Regions from separate parts of the Homo sapiens genome. Here region 1 is linked to region 2. The links are contacts of gene promoters, found by promoter capture Hi-C in blood cells and fetal thymus (Javierre and others, 2016). All regions are on one chromosome and are shown on one strand. Each heading gives the region's core, a stretch centred on a gene start or on the middle of the fragment in contact. The rest is flanking DNA. Distances are from core to core; before and after follow the strand shown.

Region 1 (7,346 bases), core at 673-3,172, 130 kb after region 2:
TCGCCTGTGCCATAAGCAATATTTACACCATTTAAATCAAGAACCGTAGTGTGAACCTATTATTGAGAAACGTGGAGATGACTAACAGAAGAAATAGCCAAGAAGGAGAAGCCTCTGGAGGACGGGAGGGAAAGGCAGGGCAGGGGCTGCTGCTGCCACATAAGCCTTTCTCTACTTCTTGATTTTTCTCCAACTATGACATGCTCTGTCTTATTTTAAAGTTAGATTACGTTTTCTGACATTAAATATTTGAAAATCAATGCAAATACAAGATCTAGAAAGACAAGCCAGATAGATAAGCTGGACAGCCAGACAGCAGAAAAATGACAGCCTGATGGCTGGCTGGACAGCCACCCAGACAGACAGACAGAGCTGGGTAGGCGGCAGATATCAAATGCCCAAGGCATCATCCCTGCACAGACCTTCCGAGTCCTGGTTCTTGCGGCTGTAGTTCATTCGGAAGACGAAGGCCTCGAGGATAAAGGCGACAATGATCGTCATCACCACCTGGCCAGGGATAGGGAGGGAGGGGCAGAGGCAGGGGAGGAGGGTGGGTAGGTGTCCGTGGCTGCGCAGCCCACGCCCAACAGAGTCCGGCCAGATGGGACCCAGCCCCACTCCCTGACGCTGCAGGCTGAAGAGCAGGGGCAGCTGGTGATGTGGAAGACGAAGGACAAAGAGCGTTCTGTGGTCCGGGACCTACCATGGTCACAATGTAAAAGGTCATGAAGTAGAGGCGGCTCCAGTGGGAGGTCTGAGAGGTGACGCCTTCCTGGAGACCAAGGGAAGCAGCCAGTGAGGGGGTGCCCATGCAGGGCAGGTCCCCGTCTACACAGGCTGCTCCATGGCCCCGGCTCTTCGCAGACCCCACCGTGATTTGTGGCTGGTTGTGAGAGATGGAGGAGAGGAAGCTTGCCCCTCTGGGCCTAACACTAATTCCTGACTGCTGAAGGAGCCCTGGCCACTCCCCTGGACGACTGGATCCAGAACCAGGGCAGCCTTTATCCCAGTAGGGCTGGGAGTCGGGAAAGTTTAAGGAATGGAATAAAGAGATCAGCAATGCTCGCCACTTTGTCACTAGAGGGAAAAGTCATCTCTACAGTGGGCGAGACAGGACAGAGACCCAGAGTCTAAGTGGCATCTCCTGGCTGCTGGGGACATGCAGGGAGATGGGAGTAACAGCCGAGTCCAGCCAACACTGGGAGGGGTGGCTCCTGGGGCCCAGCCATCCTGTGGCCTCCCCACTGAACACCAACACAGCATGACTCAAGACCCCCAGCCCTGCAAGCTACGGGAAGAATTATATACTCTGGGTTGGGGGAGACCCAGGGCCGACCCCAGGGCTGGCGGGAAGATACCCCCAGAGCTGCCCGAGCTCTTACCATGATGATGTACCAGTTGTTGACAACTGTGAGCTCAAACAGGGTCACTGCCGAGGGAAGAGAGAAAGAAGCATCCTGATGAGACCCCACTTCAAAGTCAATTTCAAGTGGCCTCTTGCCACCTATCCTGGGTGCCATGTGCTAAGATGAGAGGGTCACCATATGACCGCTTGGGTTGTGAGCTCCAGGAAAGACCAGGCAAGGCACTCCTAGGGCGCTGGCTCCACAGGACATCATGGCCTGCCCCCAAGAGAACACACCCTCTGCCTCAGCAGCCTGTGCCACATCAGACTATCTGGATCTTACTGGGTGCAGATCTGGGGTGTCATGGGGGCACACCCTTTTTCTGGAGAGGCGGTTTGGCTGTGTTCGCCTCTTCATGGGAGTGGGCAGAGGGCTGTGTGCAGTCTGAGCCAGGGGGCAGTGCAGCTGCAGCAGCAGTGGTGTGGCTGGGTCCCATTCTGCAAGTGGCACTGTGATGAGGGGACCCCGCCCAGCTAAGGCTTGCAACTCTTGTCCTCCCCGGTACTGAGAAAATATCAGGAAAGAGTGGAATCAGGCAACTGAGTGAGCTCCAGGATCCAGCCTGGACTGTACTGCCAAAGCTGGGCAGACCAAGTCCTCCACCTGGGCCAGGGAGGCTTCCAGAAAGTGTGGCCCAGACACTTGCTACACCACCTCTGGGACCCGTGGTGACAAGGGTGACAAGGGTGGGGTCCCCAGGGAATGTGCCCCCTGTGATTTTTCCCACTCACCAAAGCTGTTGAGGATGTTGTCAAAATTATTGAGATAATAGTAGCCTTCCTCCACCACGGTCCTGTTGCCCACGGTGTGGTTGCGCCAGCGGTAGGCATCTGCCACTGTACTCGTGCTGGCCGGAGCACAAGGGAGAAAGGAGGGAGGGTCACAAGGCGATCAGTCACCTCCAGAGAGGACAGAAGTCTGAAACAAACCGAGTTCTGGCCAAGGATCCTTCTGTTCTGCCCGCAGCCTGGTTTCCTGCCTAACCCTCTCCACCTCATGCCTGGGTCCCTGCTGAAGGAATGCCCTTGGCTATTCCTGCCTGCTGGGCTTGGCGGGATCCCCTGGCCAGCCTGACCCACCTCTGTCACCTGGAAGTTGTCTGCTGCAGGCAGGGCCTTCTCTCTCACCGTTGCTTGCAGGGGAGGGAGGAGAGGCAAGGGCCTCCTCTGCACCTGCCCCATCTAGGATCTGCTCTTGAGGCTGGACACTAGGCCACAGTCCCAGGGAAGGAATTCCCTACTGGGGCTTCCCCAATACTTGGCCTGAGCAAGTATTTGAAAAGGTTGGCCCTGTTTTGAGGAGCTCTTATTTGCCACTTTCCTTCCAATCTTTTATGGCTGTTCTGTTAATATCCATGCTAATGTTTATAAAAGTCTAGTGCTTGGGCCACCAGGGAGCCTCCTCCCACACGCATGCATCAGACACAAGAGTGAGGTCTGGAGCTTGCACTAAGCTCCCTGGTGACTGCAATGGGCTCTAAAGTCTGGGACCCACTGCTATAGGCTTCTGGTTCCAGACCAAGCTTGACACTCAAACTGGGTCTCAAAGCTACCAGTGTCTTTGTAAAACTGTTTCTTCATCGGTGCTTGAGGCTGTAAAGACCAAATGTAAGAGGACTCTCTGAATTGAGGATGAATGAATGGCAGTGTGCAGTGATTTCACTGTGGCGGCTCAGGAGAAAGGGAGTGCTCATGGGAGATTTCACTCTCTGCTCCCCATCCCTGAGCACCATGACCTTCCTGCACGTGTCCGTCTGTCTTATCCTACGATGCTGTCCCTAGAAGACTGGTCTTGGCCCAGGTCCCCAGCCACTCCAGGAGAGAAGTGGGAGGAAGCCATGGGACTTGACCTTGGGACCCAGGCTACTGTGGGGGTGGCCTCCAGCCCTCGGCAGAGGGTGAGCTGACAGCTCCCAACCCTGCCTGGGGGATGGAGAAACAGGGACCCCGAGTCCAGGCCCCTCATTTAGCTCACTGCACTCAACTAAGCCCTGAAAGCAAAGCAAGGTGGTTGCTTAGACAGGAACATCCCCGAGGACCCCAAGGCCACAAGGACACCAATCCTGGCCCTGGCCAGCCCTCTGCCCGGGAAATGCAGGCTGCCTGGGGCTGGGTGGGGCCTACTCACTTGCAGCAGTTGGGGAAGACGATCCCGCAGAAGAACTCCATGCCCACGATGGCGAAGGAGTAGTAAAAGATGAGCAGGGTGAGGCCCAGGCTGTGGGGCGACAGGGGCAGGGTGACGCGGGGCCGGCAGGAGGGAACGGCTCCTCTGCAGCCCCGGCCTCCTCGGACCCGTGGGGCTGACTGCAGGGCCATGCCCCTGGTCGGTTCACCAACTGGAAAGTGCCTGCGGGGAAGGGGCCTCGTGGGGCAGCTCTGGGGTGAAAAACAGCTCAAGTCAGGACGCTATGAACAAATGCCCCTTTCCCAGAGATTCACCCCTTACCTGTGAAGGTAGACTCACAGGTGACCCCTTACCTGTGAATGTAGACACAGGTGGTAAGCGAGTTGACAGCTCCCTGCCCTCCCTACTAAATATGTCAGACAGGTCAGTGGAGAAAAATGGTGCCCAGGAGACCTGTGGTGGTCAAGATTCCAGGCTCCTTGGAGCCCCGTCAGGCCCTCGATTGCAGTCCTTTGTGGAACTCCTTTCCCCCGACTGCCACTCGGCTCCCGCCCCCACGGGGCACTGCCACACGGCACCTGGACCTGCAGGCCAGGGTGGGGGCTGGCAGTACCTGGCCATCCGGGGCAGCAGCTCGAACATGGTGTCCAGCACGTTGCGGTAGCGCTCCTTCAACTTAAACAACCTGAGCGAGGAGGACACCCGTCACCTCCACACACAGGTGCACGCCTCAGCCCCCGCCCTCAGAACATGCCGGCCCCGCCTTCCACACGCCATGCGGTGAAGACAGGTGAGGGCCTCTCCTCCACCTGCGTCCACTCCCTTGGGCGCCACCAACCCTGAGCTGGGCTCAGGTGATTCATGCATGAGGGAAGGGATGGTGGCAGCCCCAGGACACCGGCTGGGCGGGGTCCTTCCACGAAGAGGAGCAGGGCCAGGCCACATCTCCTTGCAGTAGAGCTGCAGGCTCAGACAGGAGCAAGGCCTTGCTCCTGGGAAAGAGCGGGGAGAAGCCCATGTGCCCCGGGGAGCGGGGGCAATGGAGCTCACCAGTGAAGAAGGGTGGCAGGGGGCGGGACGGAGGCGGACACTCAGGAGCAGCCCCAGGCCACCCCCACACGCCAAGGGGGTAGGCTTTTCCTCCATAGACGCCACCACCCCTCCCCGCACCTGCCCCGCCTGTCCCGCCTTGGGAGAGGATGGGGCGGACGTGGATGGGGTTGCAGCTGGAGGGTCAGGAGGCAAGCCCAGGCTCTGAGGGCACAGGACCTCGGGACCCCTCATTAGGAAGAGACACCGTCAGTGGGGCAGGCTCGTCTGGGACTTTCTCCAGTGTCCCTGGGAAACCAGTGGGACCCACACGAGGGTTTTTCTCCATAAGACGCTGAGCCAGAAAAGCACGCAGGGCCCCTGAAAGGCCCTTCCAACCCTCAGACCTGTGGCTCTGTGATCTGTGACTTGAGCATATGGGCTCCTGTCGCTGGTGCAATGCCACCTCAGGTGGGGTGCACATGAGTCATGGGCTGGGTTTCTCTGCCCAGAGGCACCTGGTGCAGTGAGGGGAAGGGCACAGGCAGCCTGCACACCCTCAGGGGTGGGGATGTTGACCCCATGGTGATTCTCCAGGGGGTGACATCTGTGACTCTGGCTTGTGAACCTTCTGGCTCATTCTGGGTCACTTCCCGGATCAATCCTGGGGCATTCCCGTCCTCCCTCTCTTTCTCCCTGTCTCCGGCTCTGCCCTGCCCATCACCTCAGCAGCTGGAGGGGGCGCAGGACCACGATGAAATAGAAGGGCTCCATGTTGAGGGCCAGCGCCAGCAGTCCCAGGAAGGCGAACACTGTCACGGAGAAGTCAAACCTGCAGTAGGGGAGAGGCCAAGGTCCACCCTGTGGCCCTGAGCCTACCTGCGCCTGCTCCCCTCCCTGGCCCTGTGCACAGCCACCCTCCCACAGAGCCCAGACACAGCAACACCAACAGGAACCAGCCGGCTGCGGGAAGAACTTCCTGCCACCCTGGGGTTTCAAGGTGGCCAGGCCCTGTCCCAGCATGCGTCTCACGGGTCAGGCCTCAGTGCTCTGACCCCAAGGCCAGAAATGCCCGGGAACCCCTACAAAGGGCCCCATGCTGGTCTAACGACAAGAAGGAAAGAAGCCCCGGCCTCTGCAGCCCTGGCCTCCGCAGCCCTGGAGACAGGCCTCGTCTTCCGCTCAACAGACATCTGGTTACACACTGCAGACCAGCCTGACCCCAAGGAACTTTTTGAGGGAAGAGAGCAGGCCCTTCCAGTGAGATTCCCATCGGGAGAACAGCTCGCCCTGCCCCAAGCCAGAGGACCCTCTCTCCTCTCCAGACACGCAGGGCACACACGTGCTGTCGGCTCCTCCCAACTCCGCTCTGCGTGTTAACCCGCTCACCCTCGCGGCCCAAGACCTCATGAGTGCAGCCTGACTTCACAGGCCGGTTAACTTGAACAGGGCAGGGAAGTGACCTCCAACGCTCTGGGGAATAGGGAGAAGGGCCACATGGGGTCTCATTACTGCTGATCAAGGAAGGGGGGGAGCATTCTTTTCTGTGGGCATTGTGGCTTTTATGGAAGAGAAAAAAGTTTAATGAGTCAGGAAGAGCCAATCAGTCTATGGCACCTCAAGAGGCCGTTTCCAGAAGGACGGTGTGGGTGGTCTGAGAGGCTTCAGACAAGGGCCTGACCCTGGGGAGTTCCTGGGCTGTGGGCAGGGCTGCTTGAGGGAGACATAGGCCTCAGCCCATCCTCAGACCCTCCCTCTGCGATTCCAGAAATGGCCCGGGATCAGGGTGTGCAGAGAAGGGTCTGGGGCCATCCTCAAGAGTCTCAGCTTTGGGTCAGAAACATGCTGTCCACTCACAAGTTCCATCCGGAAGACAAGTACTCCACAGGGCCCAGGCCGGCAACCTTCAGGAACAGCTCCACCCCATAGACTGTGGACAGAAGGAATCCATCGGCAGCAGCCCCGCCACATCCTCCCCCATGCTCGGTCTCCTCTTTGAGGCTCCTCCACAGTCTGCAGCCTCCCTGCTGGCCATAAGCCCTCCAGGCTGAGCCCAGGCCTCACTCATGTCCCAGCGTGAGAGCAGGTGCTCCAGGAGAGGGCCTAGATGGTGGCCAACTGGGTAATCTGCTTAAGAGAAACTGGCCAGGCATAGGGGTTCACACCTATCATCCCAGCACTTTGGGAAGCCAAGAGAGGAGGACCACTTGAGCCCAGGAGTTGGAGACCAGCCTGAGCAACATAGTGAGACCCCATCTTTACAAAAAATACAAAAATTAGCCAGGCATTGTGGCGCTGTGTGCCTGTAATCCCAGCTACTTGGGAGGCTGAGGCTACTCGGGATCCCTTGAGCCCAGGAGGTTGAGGTTGCAGTGAGCTATGATCACGCCACTGCACTCCAGCTTGGGTGACAGAGAAAGATCCTGCCCCAAAAAAAGAGAGAGAAATCCTCCCTGCCTGTCTCTGGGCAGGGCCCAGCTAACCATCTGTCCATCCAACAGGTGTGTCCTGACTACCCCTTCTACCTTGGGCCTTGCATTGGGTACCAGGTGTGCAAAAGTGACCAGTGCAGGGCAACCCTGGGGGCACAGAGCTTATCAGCTAGGTGGGAGGAAAGACGCCAACAGGGAATGACAACACAGTGTGCTCAGACTTGATGGAAAGAGCAGGAAAGTCAGGCAGAGGTTAGAGGAAGACACCACCAGGCAGAGGAAACCCCTGTGCACAGCCCAGAGGCAGGCAAGAGCAGCAGGGAGCAGAGGCTGCTGAGGAGAGCAACAGTGT
Region 2 (6,535 bases), core at 1,115-3,614:
AAGAGAGAGAGAGAGAATAACATCTGTCATTTGTTGAGTCCCTATTATGTGCCAGTCATCAGCTGAGTCCTCTGGAGACGTTATCTCACTGATACCTTGTGTCATGCTTTGAGCATGGTGACCTGCTTACCCTTACTTTAGCATGTTTACAGGGCACCTACAAGATGCAGGCCCTGACCTAGCAACAGGGGATACCACTGTGGACAAGATAGACATCAACCTTGGAGCTGAATTATAGCCTGATGAGATGGGCACTTAACAAATAACTGCATAGACAAACAAAATAATCAGAAATGTTGAAAACTTCTAAGAGGGAAACACGCATATAGGGAGTCCTAAAGAGAAGAACAAGGGGACCTACTTTGGGTATGGAGGTCAGGAAAGACCTCTTAGAGGAAGTGACCATTAAAACTAAGAACTGAGACAGGGCGCGGTGGCTCATGCCTGTAATCCCAGCACTTTGTGAGGCAGAGGCAGGCGGATCACCTGAGGTCAAGAGTTCAAGACCAGTCTGGCCAACATGGAGAAACCCCGTCTCTACTAAAAATACAAAATTAGCCGGGCATGGTGGCGCATGCCTGTAATCCCAGCTACTCGGGAGGCTGAGGCAGGAGAATTGCTTGAACCTGAGAGGCGAGGTTGCGGTGAGGCGAGGTTGCAGTGAGCCGAGATCGCGCCATTGCACTCCAGCCTAGAGAGTAAGAGGGAAACTCTGTCTCAAAAAAAATAATAAAAAATTAAAAATTAGACCCGAAAAATGAGAACCAACCAACCACACAACAAACTGCAAGAAGAGCGTGTACATGGCAGGACTATTGTGAGGATTCAATGAGCCTGCATGGTAAGGGCACCCATGTTGGGTGTCTGTCCACTTGGAATTGGGTCTCTCTTCCTTTTTGGTGAAATCCCCAGATTTTTCCCCTGGGGATCCTGGGATTGTCAGGATGAACTCCCCCTACTCCATAATCCTTCCGCTTTCTTGTTTTTTTGGTGTTTGTTTTAGAGACAAGGTCTCACTCTGTTGCCTGGGCTGGAGTGCAGTGGCACGATCATGGCTCACTGTAACCTTGAAGTCCCGGGCTCAAGCAATCCTCCCACCTCAGCTTCCTGAGTAGCTGGAACTGTAGACATGCACCACTGTATCCGGCTGATATTTTAATTTTTATAGAGATGCAGTTTTGCTGAGTTGTCCAGGCTGGTCTTGAACTCCTGGCCTCAGGTAAATCTCTTGTCTCTGCCTCTCAAAACACTAGGATAACAGGTGTGAGCCACCTGTTGGCTCACAACAGATGAGTCATTAACTCACCATTGACTCCATTTTATAAACAGTGAACCTGAGGTCCAGAGAGATTAAGTAACTTATCCAAGTTCACACAGTTAGAAACAGCATAGCCAGAATTCACACCAGGCAGTGTCTTTGGCATCTGTGCTATTAACCGCGATGCTATACTTTCTCTAATATACTAGTGTTATCGTTACTATTATGAAAGCTGCATGCATTTAATATTTATTGCCAATTGTCCTTTGGAACCAAATGCTCCTGGCTCAGTTTCCAGGCTTCCCCAGCCCTCTTGGTTATACTGACTCACAAGAGGACAGCAGGCATCAGTTAAATGAAAAAGCCCCAAGTTGCCAACAGCCTTATCAACCCCAGACCCCATCAGGCACCTGAGGTCTGGGACTGAGCTGTCTTGGCCCAGGGACACACACCTCTTGTCCCGTATGGCAGCCACCAGGGCTGAAATGGGGGACCTGGGTCTCCCTGCTGTGGAATAACCCAGGGGAAAGCAGGGGGCTCAGGCTCAGGTCCCAGTCATGCCAACCTTGGCCAAGTCACTTTTGTCACTGGGCCTTACCTGTCACATCTATGAGTTGAGGTAAGGACCACCAGTGCTGTCCACCTCACTTGTCCCCAAAGCCTTTCCCCAGAGGCCACCTTGGTGGCACTCCACAGCCAAATCCCTGGTGCCAGGGCTGGGACACCTCGGGCTGGCCCCTTGGCTGGCAGAATGCCCAACCCTGCCCCTCTGGCAGGCAGAACCCACTCTCGCCCTTCAGGGTCCCCAGCACAACACTTTCTTCTGCAGGGCACCCTGAATTCAATCGACATTCCCAGGAGGGCCTAGAACACGCTCAGGCCCTCTCACTCCCACCTGCTCAGCTTGGACTTTGCCCAAAGCCTCCCAAACTCCTGCAGCCTCTCATCAGCCTCTCATTCACACACACACTGAGCCCCAGGGGCCCCAGCTGGCCCCAGACCCCTTACCTCCCTGCCCAACTATCCCAGACCAGCGTGGCCCCAGCTCCTGCCCTCCAGCCTGCCAGGGAACCAGCTCTTTCCAGGAACCGGCTCTGTCCAGCTTCAGGCAGCTTCCGGCAACCTTGGTCCCTCCTCCTTTGTTAAAGAGAAAGCTCCAGACCCTAAGCCTCCGGGTGAAGACGGAGGAGGAGAGGGGATGAGAGCAACCCTCACCGCTTTCCCGGGCACTGCCTATGACTCATGCACCACCCTGTCTCATTTGACAGATGAGCAAACTGAAACTCAGAAAAGGGAACTTATTTGGCCAAAGCTTCCCAGACAGCAAGGGGCAGAGACAGCCTTTACCCCTGGCCCTGGGCCATCTCTTCCGGGATGCAGGCATCTCCATGTCTTCTCATTTTAGGTCTAGTGATTGTCCCGGATGCTGAACCACTGTTGGGGTCAGCTTAGGTCTGGGATGGGAAAACAAGGACAAGGGAACTTTTTTTTTTTGAGACACAGTTTCATTCTTGTCCCCCAGGCTGGAGTGCAATGGTGCGATCTCGGCTCACTGTTACCTCCGCCTCCTGGATTCAAGCGATTCTCCCACTTCAGCCTCCCAAGTAGCCAGGTTTACAGGCACCCACCACCACGCCAGCTAATTTTTGTATTTTTAGTAGGGACAGGGTTTGACCATGTTGGCCAGGCCAGTCTCGAACTCCTGTCCTCAGGTGATCTGCTTGCCTCTGCCTCCCAAAGTGCTGGGATTACAGGCGTGAGCCACTGCACCTGGCCAAGGAAACAATTATTATAATTATTATTTGTGACATGGGAAAGGTATATTTTTGTCTGAAGCACCTCTCCGTCTCGGATATTTTACACGCAGCATGAGAACCCAAGCAATTATTTGCTACTCAGATGAATGACTGACCATTCATTCATTCATTAAATGTTTATTGGACACCTACTATGTGCCAATCCCTGGAACTTTGGCCTCAAACAAAATAGCATGTCCTCTGCCTTCACAAAGCCCTTAGAGAGGGCCATTAGAGAGCACTTATTAGTGCTATCAGATGTTAGCAGCTGGCAGGGTGGGGCAGGGCTGTGGAACCCAGAGCAGGCACCCCGCCTGGCCCTGGGGGGCTGGGGAGGCTTCCTGGAGGAGGGGAAGTCTGAGTGGAGCCAGGAGTCAGGCACAGGGAGTGCAAAGGTCTGGAAATGAAAAACATGATATATTCCAGGGTCAGGGTAGTATCCAGTGGGGCTGGGAGGGAGAAGGCAGGGGTGGGGAAGCAAGTGGGGTTGAGGCTGGAGATGTGGGCAGAGATCAGAGTCCACAGGGATGCCTGTACCAATCCAGAGTTTGGACCTTACCCAGGGGCACTAGGGAGCCACAGAAGGCTTTAGGTGGGGGGAATGACATGGTCAAATTCATGTCTTGTCTCTGCACCATCTCACTGGGTGAACCTGAGCAGCTCGTGCCCATCTCTGGGCCTCAGTTTCCCTATGTGGAAAGTGGGAACAGGAAGACCTGGCATCACAGATGTTGTGTGTCCTTCTTGGGCTGTTTCTGATCTCCCCAGGTTTGATGATTAACTCCCAGCCACTTGGGGTTAGATGGAGCTGCTTGGCCGTGATCCTTAATGTGGACTCTGGCAAGTTTCTACCCATCCTCGCTTTAGACACACATCCATCCTTGTTGGGTGCCTTGTCCTGGACTGGGTACTGGGGACACAGAGGTGATAAAATCCAGTTTGTGCCTTGAAGTGGCCCCCAGCATGGAGGGGAGAGGAAGACACCCAATTCGGTAGCAACAATAACACTTCCTAAGATGACAGAGGGCAGAAAGTCCCCATAGGGTAGCTGGGGATGGGGCAAGATCAGGGAGGGCTTCTTGAAGTAGGCAGAGACTCAGCACACAGCTCAGACTTTGACAAGAAGCAGACTAGCTGCATTTAGTGCATGTCTACTGTACACCAACACGTGCATGCTGTCCAGCGTAACCCACACTGTTTATTTGTTTGTTTGTTTGTTTGTTTGTTTGTTTTACAAACGAGGTCTCACTGTGCTGCCCAGGCTGATCTTGAACTCCTGACCTCAAGCAATCCTCCTACCTTAGCCTCCCAAAATGCTCGGATTACAGGCAACAGCCACTGCGCCCAGCCCCCAAAGGTTTTTTAATAGTTGGCAATCTATTTCTGTGTGCATTAGGAAAGATGTGTGTATGTATGTAGGTATATATATATGTGTATACATATGTATGTGTATGTACATATAAAATATCAGACCCATAGTTTCATGGATATGATGGCTTAGGAAGAAGCTAAGGTAGGTATTAAAGTTTAAAAATGGAGCCTCTTTAAAAAATATATTAATTGGCCAGGCATGGTGGCTCATGCCTGTAATCCCAGCACTTTGGGATGCCGAGGCAGCTGGATCACCTGAGGTCAGGAGTTTGAGCGTGGCCAATGTAGTGAAACCCCATCACTACTAAAAATACAAAAAGCTAGCTGGACATGGTGGTGGGCGCCTGTAATCTCAGCTACTCGGGAGGCTGAGACAGGAGAATCACTTGAACCGGGGAAGTGGAGTTTGCAGTGAGCCGAGGTCGTGCTATTGCACTCCAGCCTGGGCAACAAGAGCGAAATTCCGTCTTAAAAAACATATATAAATATATATATGTGTGTGTGTATATATATGTTTATAAATATATATATTTGTATATAATATATATTTATATAAATATATATACTTGTATATAATATATATATTTGTATACAAATATACATGTTTGTATACAAATATATATGTATATAAATATATATATTTGTATATAAATATGTATATGTATATAAATATATATTTGTATATTATATATATTTGTATATAAATATATATATATTTGTATATAATATATATATTTGTATATAAATTATTAGTAGCAATAATAGTAGTAGTAGTTTCTGGCATGAACAAGCAGCATGCCTAGTAGTTAAAACACAGACCTGCAGCCAGGCTCTGATACAAATACTTGTTCTGCCACTTTCTCACTGTGTGACCCTGTGACCTTTTGTAAGTCACTTAACCTCTCTGTGCCTTGTTCCCTCAAATGTAAGATGGGGATAAAACACTACTTCCCTAGTACAGTGGATGTGAGGATCAAATGCATTAATGCAGGAAAATATTAGGACAGTAGTTAGTGCTCTGTGTTCGCTGCTGTTGCTTTTGCTTTATTTTGTTTTGTTTTTTGAGACAGAGTCTCACCATTCACTCTGTCGCCCAGGCTGGAGTGCAATGGCGCGATCTTGGCTCACTGCAAACTCTGCCTCACGGGTTCAAGGGATTCTCCTGCCTCAGCCTCCTAAGTAGCTGGGATTACAGGCTTGCACCACCACGCCTGGCTGATTTTTGTATTTTTAGTAGAGACAGGGTTTCACCATGTTGGCCAGGCTGCTCTCAAACTCCTGACCTCAAGTGATCTGCCTGCCTTGGCCTCCCAGAGTGGTGGGATTATAGGCATGAGCCACGGCGCCCAGCTGCTATTGTTTTGTATTGCTAATATAAAAGAGGTGATGGGACAATATGGCAAAAGTTGCAAAGGTGGCACGTAAGCGTTCAAAGTACCATGATGTCATTATATTACAGAATGCTAACAACTACCTGGAAAAGTAAGTATTATAATAAACCCTACATTGTGGAAATAGGGCCAGAGAGGCCAAGTCGCTTTCCCAAGGTCACACAGCAGTAGCAGAGTCAGGGCTCAGACCCAGAGGGACGAGGCTCCAGAGCTCCTGGCTTGGGTGACAAAGAGGATGGGCTGGGGAAGCCACGTGGCTGCATTGGAGAGCAGATGAGGCTGGAGAGGTGGGCCAGGTCACTGACCTGTCCCCACCAGAGCCATGTTCGTCAGCCAGCCCCTGTCCCTGACACCTTGGGCCGCAAAACACCCACCCCGGCCAGTCCCCTGGGTTATTCATTAAGCTTCATTACACCATCCTCACCCCTGGCTGACCTTCCTGTTCCCAGGGCAAGGGAATTGCGTGGAGAAGAGGGACGAAGCCTCTGACGCCTGAGATTAGCCTTTCCTTTCCCAATTTGCAGATTTAACCCTGGACTCTTCGTCATATGCTTCCCAAGGCCGAAGGCTTAGTTCCCCTAAATGGCAAAAGAGCTGAGGCTCAGGCAGCCCCAGCTAGTGAGTAATAACTGTGCCGGAATTCGGGTGCAGGTCTCCCAACACCCAATACAACAGAGCATCTTACCTAAGTTCTCAGACTCATCAACCCTGGCCAAGAT

What was found. Contacts are between HindIII fragments. The CHiCAGO score rates a contact against its expected background, and 5 or more counts as called.
Region 1: a contact is called between a fragment that was not itself captured here and the fragment with the promoter of SDSL in region 2, in 1 of 17 cell types (M0 macrophages). The highest score is 5.5, in M0 macrophages.

The regions. Positions count from the first base shown.
Region 1 is chr12:113,285,035-113,292,380 of GRCh38, reverse strand. TPCN1 (two pore segment channel 1) reads right to left here. Exons shown (of 28, transcript NM_017901.6): 18 at 6,420-6,492; 19 at 5,287-5,394; 20 at 4,147-4,218; 21 at 3,534-3,623; 22 at 2,138-2,253; 23 at 1,383-1,429; 24 at 704-772; 25 at 423-507. MIR6762 (microRNA 6762) reads right to left here and starts at 858; the gene lies at 773-858. RefSeq lists an enhancer at 4,494-4,661. The HindIII fragment of the contact is 2,017 bases long and covers 914-2,930 here.
Region 2 is chr12:113,418,209-113,424,743 of GRCh38, reverse strand. It overlaps SDSL (serine dehydratase like), which reads right to left and starts at 2,364. Exons shown (of 8, transcript NM_001304993.2): 1 at 2,267-2,364. RefSeq lists an enhancer at 6,107-6,535. The HindIII fragment of the contact is 13,599 bases long and covers 1-2,572 here.